Linked DNA regions of Homo sapiens: all the other regions are linked to region 2. Evidence: promoter capture Hi-C in 16 types of primary human blood cells and fetal thymus (Javierre and others, 2016). All regions are on one chromosome and are shown on one strand. Each heading gives the region's core, a stretch centred on a gene start or on the middle of the fragment in contact. The rest is flanking DNA. Distances are from core to core; before and after follow the strand shown.

Region 1 (3,885 bases), core at 1-2,500, 280 kb after region 2:
ATTGTTCCTCCTTGGACTTCCTCCAAACAAAAGCTTGAAATTATAAATTCATTTCCATCAAGAAGACTATTCATCTCCACAGCAACCTAACATGCCCCAAGGAGAAGATTACTACCCCCATACTGACTTGCAGTCCTCGCTCTCCAGCAGGCTCCGGTACGTGTTGATCTCACACTCCAGCCGCGCCCGCACGTCCAGCAGCACCTGATACTCCTGGTTCTGCCGCTCCAGGTCACTGCGGATCTCCGCCAGCTGGGACTCCACGTTGGTGATCAGTCTCTGCACCTGGGACAGCTGGGAGCTGTAGCGGGCCTCGCTCTCTGTCAGCGTGTTTTCCAGAGAGTCTCGCTGTGGTGGGGAAGATTGAGAGTGTCAGAGAGCTGCTCCTTATAAGGTTCCTCCATGGGGTTCCAAAGAACTCACAAGCTCCAAGAGCTAAGGAGAGTGTGTGGCCCCAAGGGCATCCCCAAGACTCTGCCTCCCAAGTTCCCATCGCTCACCAGCAGGTCTGAACAATACACACCAGGTTGTGCTGGGCCTGCAGCTCGATCTCCAGGGCATTGACCGTGCGTCTCAGCTCGATGATCTCCGCCTGGTAGGACTGCAGCTGCTCCGAGCTGGATACCACCTGCTTGTTCAGCTCCTCGGTCTGAAACACCCAAGGGGAGAAAGGATCAGACCCTGCCTCCGGGGCCCTGGGGGGCCTCGGGTCCTGAGTGGCCACGTGCTTAGATGCCCACCTGCGTGGCGAACCATTGCTCCACTTCCCTGCGGTTGGTTTCCACCAGGGCCTCATACTGACTCCTGGTCTCATTCAGGACCTGGTTCAGGTCCACAGTGGGAGCAGCGTCCACCTCCACGTTGAGGCGGTCTCCAAGCTGGCAGCGCAGGGTGTTAACCTCCTGATGGAGAAAGGGCAAAATTTTAAATTTCACAAAGGATCTTGGTGCTCTCCTTAAGAGAATGCAATTCAACTTCTGATCATTCTTAAGCTTTCAAGAAACTTTGTTCCCTCTGATCCTGTCACTAACCAGGATCTATATTCAATGACTAATTTGTATACTCCACTTTTTACAAACTACTTTCAAGCCCATGACTTCCCTCTGCTCTTTGTATTAAATGTATCACTCCTCATTTAGAGAGATTCAGTGATTTGGGCTCAAAGCTGATACATGGTGGGCCATTATTTAAACTCTGGTCCCCAAATGCCCAGTTCAGTGTTTTTGCTAGTATACCATATAGCCTCACATGTTTGACTCTTAAGCATGGATAATAAAAAGAACAGAGTCTAGCTAAAGAGGAAATACAGAATGCTTACTTCAAAATCTGCCATCCTGGCATAGAAGAGACTTAAAGGGTGATTTGTTGATTCCACCAGCATAGATTTTGCTGAAGGCAATAAGTATCTGTTTACTTCCCTGCTAAGCATAGCTTGGTACTTGGGCTTAGGCGGATTTCAGACAAATTTGTATTCAACCTCATCTCTACCACTTAATACATTGCTTCTAGAAGCTTCTTGAAGCCTCGATTTCTTCATCTTAACATGAGAACTGCCTCCGGAGTTAAAGCACTTAGCACAATGTTTGGCACATACTAAGCACTTGATTAATATTAACTGTCACCATTTACATTGTTCTTGGATTTCAGGTTGCATAAAATACACGTCTTCTTTTTTGCCCAACTGACTTAGCCATAATGGTGAGCATTTTGCTCAAGGCTGTTTCCAAGCAACACTGAACAGCAAGCAGAAAGAGCTCTGGACAGGAACGAAGAGAATTGCATTTTGTTCTAGCTCAGCCCTCTCTGCCTGATGGGCCTAGGCCATCCTGGCTTCTCCAGCTACAAATGGAGAATTGGAATAGAAGATTGCTGCTGCATGCACTCTAACCTGGGCACAGGAGAGGCTGTGGCTTCTGCCTCATTACCCAGCTTTCCTCACTACTGGGCTTGCCAACTTCCTCACTCTCATTCCTGCCTCTGGCAGAAAAATCCTAATCTCATATCACAGGTTTTTAGATTAGTCATTCTCTACATATCCCTTTTTGTATGCAGAATTACTTCCTCAGCTAATTGAGCCTCTACTGACAGCCTGTCCTGGACCCTGTGGCAGTTGTGAAACAGGTCCTGGCTAGTCTGAGCCCATCACTCTTCAGGGAACTCACCTGCTCATGGTTCTGCTTGAGGCACAGCAGCTCCTCCTTCAGGGACTCCACCTGGGCCTCCAGGTCAGACCTGCACAGGGTCAGCTCATCCAGGATCCTGCGCAGGCCATTGATGTCCGACTCCACCAGCTGCCGCAGGGACAGCTCGGTCTCATATCTGTGATCACAGGAGGGTCAGGAACAGGCTGGGCAGGAATAGGCCTGGCCTTGACTCTGCTTTGGTTTGGTTAGTCAGGCAACTAGGAATTAGGGTTTGTAGTTTTTATAGCCATCTCTTTTGTTTAGGTTTTCAGCATCGAGCTGGAAGAAAATGCACTGGTAATTTTACGTTTAAAGATCCAGTGGATAGACTTCTATATTCCTAGCTATTCAGGAGGCTAAGGGGAGAGGGTTGCTTGAGCCCAGGAGTCTGAGGATCTGAAGTTACACTGAGCTATGATTGCACCACTGCCCTCCAGCCTGGGTGACAGAGCAAGGCCCTGTCTCTAAAAAAAAGAAGAAAGCCAGTGGATTTAGGATAAAAGCTGACAAACTGTAAGACTTCCAAAATAATATGCTTCCACATTCTCCATTCTCATGAATGGGTTCTGTGCATAGGAGAACATCGGGGGCCAACACGTCTACACTAACTCACAGTACGACTAGGGGTGTCACGTCACAGAGGAGAAGAAGGAGGAAAGGAAGTCTAAGGCCTGGGGAAAGGATCTCTGAGCTACGGTGTGTGGTGGCTCTGTGAATCTTGGAGAAAGCAGCTAGAACATAGCTCAGTCACTGTTTGTTTAACTTGTGTTGACAACAGGCTAAAGGAAAGGAGGGCTGCCAGAGAAGAGAAATAAACAGCAACACCCCGCTTGCCCACTCACTTGGTCCTGAAGTCATCTGAGGCCAGCTTGGCATTGTCGATCTGCACCACAAGCCTGGCATTCTCAGACTTGCTGCACAGGATCTAGAAGGCCCAAAACATTCAAGAATGAGCAAGGACTTGGTAATTTTTCACCAATGGCAGTCCTTCCTAATTCACTTCCTTGGAAGGATCAGGATGTCTATCTTATTAAATGCTTTCTATATACAGCAGGTACTCAATGAATATTTCCAAAATTATATTCAAAAAAAGAACACCAAAATATGCAAAAAGTATAAGTAGATAATCTTTTTTCTATCCTAATGAGCAATACTGAGAAGCTGATCATAATAGTTGACATTTATGAAAAACACCTACTATGTTTCTGGCATGATACTAGGAGCTGAGGATACAAAAATTGGTAAGCACTTGATCCTGCCCTCAAGAAACTTTCAATCAAGCAGAAAAGACAAATAGGTAAACTAGCAATTGCAGGGGACTGGATCAGGGAAGAAGCCACATGTTCCCAGATGTCCCAGACAACTGGGACTACTTTGTCCTAGGTAATTTCCAATCTTCCCAATTTGGGCCAAACATTTTAGGCTCTCACTGGACACTGTGCACCAGGAGAAGCCCAGAGGCATGAAGGTGAGGACAATGAAATCAGGATAAGTAGGAACCTAGAAGAGAGAGGCAGCCAGCAGTCCAAGGGGCAAAAAGCTCAGATGAGGGAGAAAGAAAATGGCCCAGTCTTTACAAAAGATTCCGTTTCCCCAGCTTCCTTTGGACTCAGTCCTTTTCTCTCACCTCAGGGTAATAATTCTGGAGCTTGGCAGGTGCATGGAAGCATTCAGAGGTAGTTTTTAATTACAGCTCATTTAT
Region 2 (3,777 bases), core at 1,223-3,722:
TTGTTATTTAACTTCCCTAGCAATCTACATTGGTAAATGTTGCTTTTCCCATTTTGCGGATGAGAAAACTCGAGAGTCAGAGAGGTTAAGTTACACTAATGCCAAAATTTTTTCTTTAAATAATTATCTACCTTTTAAAATTCTTGTGGTAAAGACAATTTCCTTTTATTTTGACAACTAAACAAACAGAAATTAAGTACCGGCTACGTATTAAACTTTGAGCTCAGTATTGGAAGCCAAAAACAAACTGTGGTCCCCTCCTTGGAGGCAAAAAAACATATAATCTCAATACAATGCCTTATGGGGAGGGAGGTAAGCTATTGGAACTTGCTGAGAGCTCCTAACCTGTATGTGTGTGTGTGTGTGTGTGTGTGTGTGTATGCATTTGCACATGTGTTTGTGTGATACAGGGGTTGGGACAGGACTACTGGAGAAGACTGAATTGAATCTTGGAAATGAATCAGAGTTAAGTAGGTGATGAAGGTGAAGAGAAAGAGTGTGTAAAAGAACAGATAAGTGAAAGAACATGAGGAAAAGCGAAACATTTGGAACTGCAAATGTTTAATAACTATAAGGTCAGTGTTGCTTGAAGTGAATCTTAGTGGGGAGCAGTGAGACATGGATCTATAGAGATGGGCAAAGGACAGGCAGCAGACCACCTGATGTGCACACACTTCCTAGCCACATGGGTAATCTGAGGACTGGCCTAGCTCTCCTGTAACATCTTCAAATACCAAATACTTGTACCAGGAATCCTAGTGCCTGTCTCTGTTCCTCTTCTGTCTTTCTCATCATCTCCATCATCTTCCTCTTCACTCTTCCTCCTATTCATTGCCTTGCCTCCCCTCTTCACTTTTTATTCATCCCTTATCTCTTACTTTTTGTCTCTCTTTTTTTGTTGTCATTTTATTCCACCTATGACAAACTCAAGATACTGTTTTTTTGCACATTCATTTACATTCACTTCTCTGCCAAACCGATTCTTCTGATTACAGTTTAGCAGGTGCTGTTTCATACTTATTATTATATTACATTTTTTTCTTCACTTTGGGTGTCTTCATTGTGGCTTGTCCTTGTGACTATTCTTGGAAGGCTTCCAGGCCATGCTTGTTAAGCCCTCAAGGAGCTCAAATCCTGGTCTTCCTCTGAAATAATGGTCCTGAAATTCTAATGAATTACATGGAAGTGATAGAAAATAAACAGCCTTGGGCCCCACTCCCAGAGATTTTGATTCATTAGGTTTGGTTTGGGGCCTAAGAATGTGCATTTTAATAGGCAATTGCAAGAGATTCTATTGTGTATGACGCATGGGCCACACTTTGAAAAATGCTACTCTAGGAACTGTGGTAAGAAGATGAGATGCGCTGTGCTGGTCAGTTTACTACCAGTGGTCATTCTGGGCTTGGCATATGCTATTCCCACTTCTACCCCTCTTCATGAACATTGTCTTTCCTTTTGTCTATTCCATTAGACCATAAGCTTCTTGGATACAAGGCATGTAGCTTGTTCATCACTAATCAGGCAGCACCTGTCAACTGGAGGTCCCTTGATAAACAATTCCTGAATGACTGAATAGATGAGATTTCTATGGATAAGGTTTTGCTTAGGTTGAGCTTTGTTTCCCTTGTGCAGGTTCCAAAATCTTGCTTATCTGTGTACGCTAATAAACATGCACTAACGAACAAATCAGGGAGCAGGGCAGTCTGCTATGCCAGGAAAAATTAGTTTATTGACAACAGTGAGCAACACATTGCAAAAGATGATGGTGACAGTTTGAGCAGTAAAAACCATCAGGTTGTAGAATGTGTTTGCAAAGTCCACCCCAGGAATTCTTAAAGGTCGATTTACTATCCATAATGACTAAGGCTGATGTAGACACCTGAAAATGTGGGTGAGGGTGGTAATGGACGTCTGCTTACACCAGGCTGTATCCAGATGGTAAAAATCACTATTGTCACCTTGTGAAAAAAAATCTATTTTTCTTTTAACTTTTTAAAAACACCAGATAGATGTTTAGGCTTCAGTGTATTGCTCTGTGGGGGCATTGGGGTCTCAGCAGGAGGAGGTCCTGCAGGTGGTGCTGCAAGGGGTCGGCTGGCCGCAGGGGGGCCGGCAGCAGGGGGACTGCACAGACACAGGCTGGCAGCAGGTGGTGGCCCAGCAGCAGGGCCTGCACACCACAGCCGTGCACGACGAGGGGCAGCAGGTGATGGGGCGGCAGCAGCCTTCCTGCAGGGAGCAGGGGTCGCAGCACACCGGGCGGCGGCAGGGCTCGCAGATGGGGCGCGTGCAGCGGGGCACGCAGGTCACGGGGCGGCACACGGTGGTCTGGCAGGTCACGGGGCGGCAGCAGCAGGGGTCGCGGCAGCAGCAGGGCTGGCAGCAGCCTCCCCCGTAGCTCAGGGAGGACAAGGTGGAGCCGCAGCAGGAGCCGGTCATGGTGGTGTCTGAGGCTGGTGTGGGTTGGGCTATTGAGAGGAGCTGGATGTTCTCAGGTGTGAATGTCCTCCTCCCCCTCTGGGCCCTTTATATACCCTGGCTGGGAGCTGATGACCCTTCAACATATGATCATTTTCTTGTGCATCTTCTGGCCAATTAAGTGAAGATTTAGCATTGACTAATGGTATTTTGGTCACTCTTCACCTCATACATATTCATGTACATACACCACAAATATTCGCTCATTTTCTTGTATTGTTTATCCTCACTAAATTTAGACATTGGATTCACTTCTGATTAATTTTCCTTTGAAATATTCCTAACCCATAAGAGAGAAAAGAATGTGTTTTCTAAATTAGTGTCTAATCGCTCTGCCCTTTGGCGCTAAAATTAGCATGTTCTTCCTTGTCTTCAAAGGCTCCCATCACCGGCACCCAAGCAGTGACTTGCCTTATTAATGCACATGGGCATGATGGTAGCAGGTTAATTGCATCATCCTAGTGCAGACCAGTAGTCATCTGCTTCACAGATAGCTCCTTCCATGACTCACTTAAAGATAGGCTTGTGGTTTTTCATATGAGCAGGGACCACACGAAATGCAGATCCCTGGCCACTGGTGTGGTCACTCTCCCCTGACTAGGACCTGGGCTTTCCTGCCTTGGTTTTGATGTGTCATCATTCACCTGGAATGCCCTCCTCATCCTTCCAATCCAAACTCAACTTCTACCTTGATTGTAAAACCCTCTTCAAGGATCCATTGCAATTATTATATTTGTAATTTGTTTGGAATTAGTCGTTGCATCTGTAGAGTCCGGGAAGGGATTGCGGAGAATATGTAGGCCTATGCCCTCACTCTACAGCTGAGGTCCTGAGAGTGTACCAAGGTCACACAATGAGGTCACCATATGAGGTCTGAGATCCAGGTCTCCTCAGTCTGCAGTAAGTAGCCTCTACTATGAGTTTTATGCTCATTGGATTCAGTAAACCATGGTCTTTAGACAGGAAAGAAAACATATATTAAAGTAGAAGCCCAGACTTCATGCCACTATGCAATATATCCATGTAACAATGCTGCATTTGAACCTCTTACATTTATACATATTAAACACAGATTTAAAAAAATAAGTAATGAACTTTCCTTTCAGCAGCAAGGTTAGAAGTGGTACTGGAAGAGAATTAGGGAAATGTTTTGCCCAGATGACACATTGTCATCCTGGACCCCCATTGACTCCACTAAGTATGACAATGTGTCTGAGAGCTAGAGAAGGGACCTGGAGAAAGCTAACATGATGCAGGGTTTATTAGTGGAACTTACATACAAGGGTGGTCCAGTGGTGG
Region 3 (3,663 bases), core at 1,136-3,635, 350 kb after region 2:
ACTGGCATTTTCCTCATTAATATTTATGTCAATTGTTATACAATCACTCTATTAGTCAGTGGTTTTTGTTTCCTATAAAGAGTTAATGAGCTCATGAAAGAGGCCCTAACCTCTTTCTTCCCATCACTGCAGGGTCCTGGAAAACAGAGAAAACAAGGTCTTCTTCAAGCAGCCCACTTTCTGTGGCTGTGAAATCTTTCCCCTTCTGTCAGCTTATGTCTATGAAATAATCAAGAACTAAAGGCTCCTAAAATGTCCTGCAAGTCTCTCTCACTCCCACATTCTTTTCCTACCTCTGAATGTTCCCAATGCAGCAAAACCTAAAATATTAGTCAATCAGGCACATTGAAGAAAGGGAAAAATCATGATTTGTTTGTTTTGATAGATATTTGTAGAGTGCCCAGTGCGGAACAAACGCACATCTATGCTGTCTTGTAAGAAGGAGATTTTAGATTTTAATAAGAAAGATAAAAAAGTAAATGATCTTGATATTATGAAGACAGTAAAAGGAAGTATTTTTTTTTTTTTAAAAGACAGCTGCAAAGATTTCGAGGTGGAAGAGAGCTCACTGAGAGACCGGAAAAAGACTTCATGGAGTAGGGGATTTTCCAAATATGTTTTGAATGATATTTTTTATAAAGGGTTGGGGAATGAGCTTCTCTCATAGAGAACAAAATAAACACAATCAAACATTTGGAAAATGGAAAATAGTCTAGTTGTGTTGGTATTTATAATGGAGACATTATCCCCAAGCCCCGGAAAGTTGCATTGAGTCCAGGTTGTGAAAAGTCTTAAATACCAGGACCATGGTCTTGAGGCAAAGGTGAGTGAAAGGTAGGGATCTGCCCTGGAAGACGACTTTCAAGTATAAGGAAAAATAAATAGCCAGCTTCCTTTTGAAGGAAAGTAGCAGAAAAAAGGTGGAAAGTTCCTTTACACAAATTATTAGAAAACTGAAAATGAAACCTAAGTTCAAAATTAATCTTGGTGTTTGAAAACTAACACAGTTTTTAATACTCCTTGGGTTAAATAAGAAATCTAATTTAAAAATTTTTAAGTATTTTGAACTGAATTAAAATCAATACACAACCTATAAAACAGATGTTGGCAATTAAGACTTTCCCTGTGCATACGTGAAACAGATAAGCGTTTTGGGAGTGAGAAAAAAACGGCTCATAATAAAACTGATGGTTTGCAATTTTCAGAAAATAAAATTATGCTTCTGTGTACTGGAGTCTACAGGCTAATTAAGGCAGGCAGTGATTAACACTTTATGGTGTCTGTTCTCAGGGCCTCACCCACCTTCCCAGGCATCTTTCCTTTCTATTGACCCTTTCACCAGACTGAGTCCCTCATCACCCTTGTTTACAGAAGATACGTACTCAAGAACTTTGATCTTTCATCTTTTGAAATATTTTTGCATTTCTTTGAAATGCATCTACCTTGATTATCCATTGCTTGGGAGACTCTAGAACAAAATTTAAATTTCCTTAATCTTCAGACACACTCAGAGCATCAGAACCTTTATGGCCTCCCCTATTTCTAAAACAAATAAGCCAGTGGCCATTTGTTCAATACACCCTGGAAAAGGGCAGCTAGCCAGCTTCCAGTCTATGCTAACAAAGATGCTAATTTGACCGCATTCCTAAGATGAATGAATTCACCACGAGGGCCCTTGAAGCAGCAAGTGTGTTTCAGCTGGCACTACAACATAGCATCTCCAGGACGAAAGGGACTTCAGGGTCCTCTAGTCTAGTACCCATTTGCATTAAATCCCTTCGATGACCTTCCTCCAACTAGTCATCTAGTCCACCATTTTCCAGGAGAGCTTACACCATCAGTTCCTGTGGCTTACAAACAGCTTCCCAGGCTTTGTGCAAGACACTGGTATCCAGAAAATTAACAGCAGCTAGCTCAGCCTTAAGGCACTCACATTATAGAGAATTTTTAGAAAGTCTTCACAAATCTACCTTCGTGTTACCTCTCCCTATAGCTTTTGTTGGGTCATTCATTCATTCATTCAACAAATAGCTATGAAGTACCTACTCTGTGCCAACCAGGGGCTGAGCTGGAGGCTAGTAATACATTGGCAAGTAAGTCAGAGAGTTGGCCCTTTAGTTCATTTACTCTCCAGTTCTCCCCCATGGTGTCCCATACAGGATAAATCTAATCATTCTGCCATATTCTCAGCTCTTTGTGGCAGATGTGAGATTTCTTACTCCTGGTTCTGCATTCAGCATGGTTCAAAGTCCCCTTGCCATCCCAGGAATGTTTCCCTGGACATGCTCCATGATGTAACAGTTACTATCACTCTTAAGTGCGGGCTGTACAGTGGGATTTCTGATTAGTTTAGATTGAAAGGCTGCCAGTAGATGGCCAGAAAACCTTCTTGCCCAGGACTTTTGTGTAAACCATGCTGGAGCCACTGGCTATTCAGCCATGACAACCAGCCAGCCACCAGTTGGTCCCATATACAGTCAATGAGACGCATGGGGACCCTTCTCTGTAACTCTATACAGATGTGGGTGATATTCTCCAAGGCATGATTTGCCTTATCCTGGTGACTTACTCTGAATGTCTGATATTCCTGAACTCCTGTTATACCAAAGCCCTTCTCAAGGGGATGGGGGATGCAGAGATGAAAAGGAGAAATTTCCACCCTCAAAAAGCTGAGAGCAGAAAAAGAGGTCACGTAACTCAGTGGAGGGAGAAGTGACTGGAGCTTAGAGATATAGAGGGGCCATCAAAGACACTTTGTCTGGAACTTAAGATTGGGAAGACTTGGATGGGCAGGAAAGATGGGAGACAGTTTTCCAGAAAAAGAGGATGAACAGGCCAGGCGCAGTGGCTCGCGCCTGTAATCCTAGCACTTTGGGAAGCCGAGGCAAGCGGATCACGAGATCAAGGATCGAGACCATCCTGGCCAACATGGTGAAACCCCATCTCTACTAAAAATACAAAAATTTGCTGGGTGTGGTGGCACACGCCTGTAGTCCCAGATACTCGGGAGGTTGAGGCAGGAGAATTGCTTGAACCTGGGAGGTGGAGGTTGCAGTGAGCCGAGATCGAGCCACTGTGCTCCAGCCTGGGTGACAAAAAAAAAAAGAGGATGAACACAAGAAAACACTCAGAAGCAGAAGTGGGCTCAAGAGAACTGGGTACAACTTCAGAAATGCAACAGCCAACAACAGGCCTGTCCCAAGTACTGGACCCCCAAAGAAATGAGTTTGAATGACACAAAATGTCAACCCAAAGAGCCAAATTGCATTTCTGAAGCCTGTAAGAGTGAAGTTTGTACTCCTCTATGCTAAAAATATTGTCTGCTTCTATTTTCATAACATCTCCACCAGTGGTCAAACTTTAACCAGCATCAGAATCACCCAGAGGGCTTGCAAAAAATGCAGGTTTTCAGGCCCCACACCACAGTTTCTGATTCAAGCGGTCTGGGGTCAGGCCAGGGAGTCTGCATTTCTAACAAGTTCCCACATGACACTGATGCTGCTGGTCTGGGGACCACCCTTGGAAGACGGAATCACTGCTCCATAGCAATAGACAAGTTTTGTGGTGACTTCATCCTAGGTGAATGAAGCACCAGGTCACAAAACAGGATTTGATGAATTCAAGAGGAGCCAGTGTTTGGATTACTGTACTTCAAATCAGTTA

The links. Contacts are between HindIII fragments. The CHiCAGO score rates a contact against its expected background, and 5 or more counts as called.
Region 1: a fragment that was not itself captured here is called in contact with the fragment with the promoter of KRTAP2-4 in region 2 in 2 of 17 cell types (total B cells and naive B cells); the score reaches 6.0 in total B cells.
Region 3: a fragment that was not itself captured here is called in contact with the fragment with the promoter of KRTAP2-4 in region 2 in 3 of 17 cell types (naive CD8 T cells, activated CD4 T cells and total CD4 T cells); the score reaches 7.3 in naive CD8 T cells.

The regions. Positions count from the first base shown.
Region 1 is chr17:41,346,321-41,350,205 of GRCh38, forward strand. It overlaps KRT33A (keratin 33A), which reads right to left. Exons shown (of 7, transcript NM_004138.4): 2 at 3,026-3,108; 3 at 2,163-2,319; 4 at 741-902; 5 at 524-649; 6 at 128-348. Among named protein-coding and RNA genes, the nearest start is that of KRT33A, 2.6 kb to the right of the region's middle. RefSeq lists enhancers at 140-640, 641-1,141. The HindIII fragment of the contact is 520 bases long and covers 991-1,510 here.
Region 2 is chr17:41,063,407-41,067,183 of GRCh38, forward strand. KRTAP2-4 (keratin associated protein 2-4) reads right to left here and starts at 2,473. Exons shown (of 1, transcript NM_033184.4): 1 at 1,710-2,473. The coding sequence starts at 2,439. The coding sequence ends at 2,053. RefSeq lists enhancers at 1,669-2,206, 2,207-2,743. The HindIII fragment of the contact is 6,863 bases long and covers 1,478-3,777 here.
Region 3 is chr17:41,411,886-41,415,548 of GRCh38, forward strand. LOC100505782 (a long non-coding RNA gene) reads left to right here. Exons shown (of 3, transcript NR_040111.1): 3 at 534-703. Among named protein-coding and RNA genes, the nearest start is that of KRT37, 11 kb to the right of the region's middle. RefSeq lists an enhancer at 1-153. The HindIII fragment of the contact is 7,068 bases long and covers 1-3,663 here.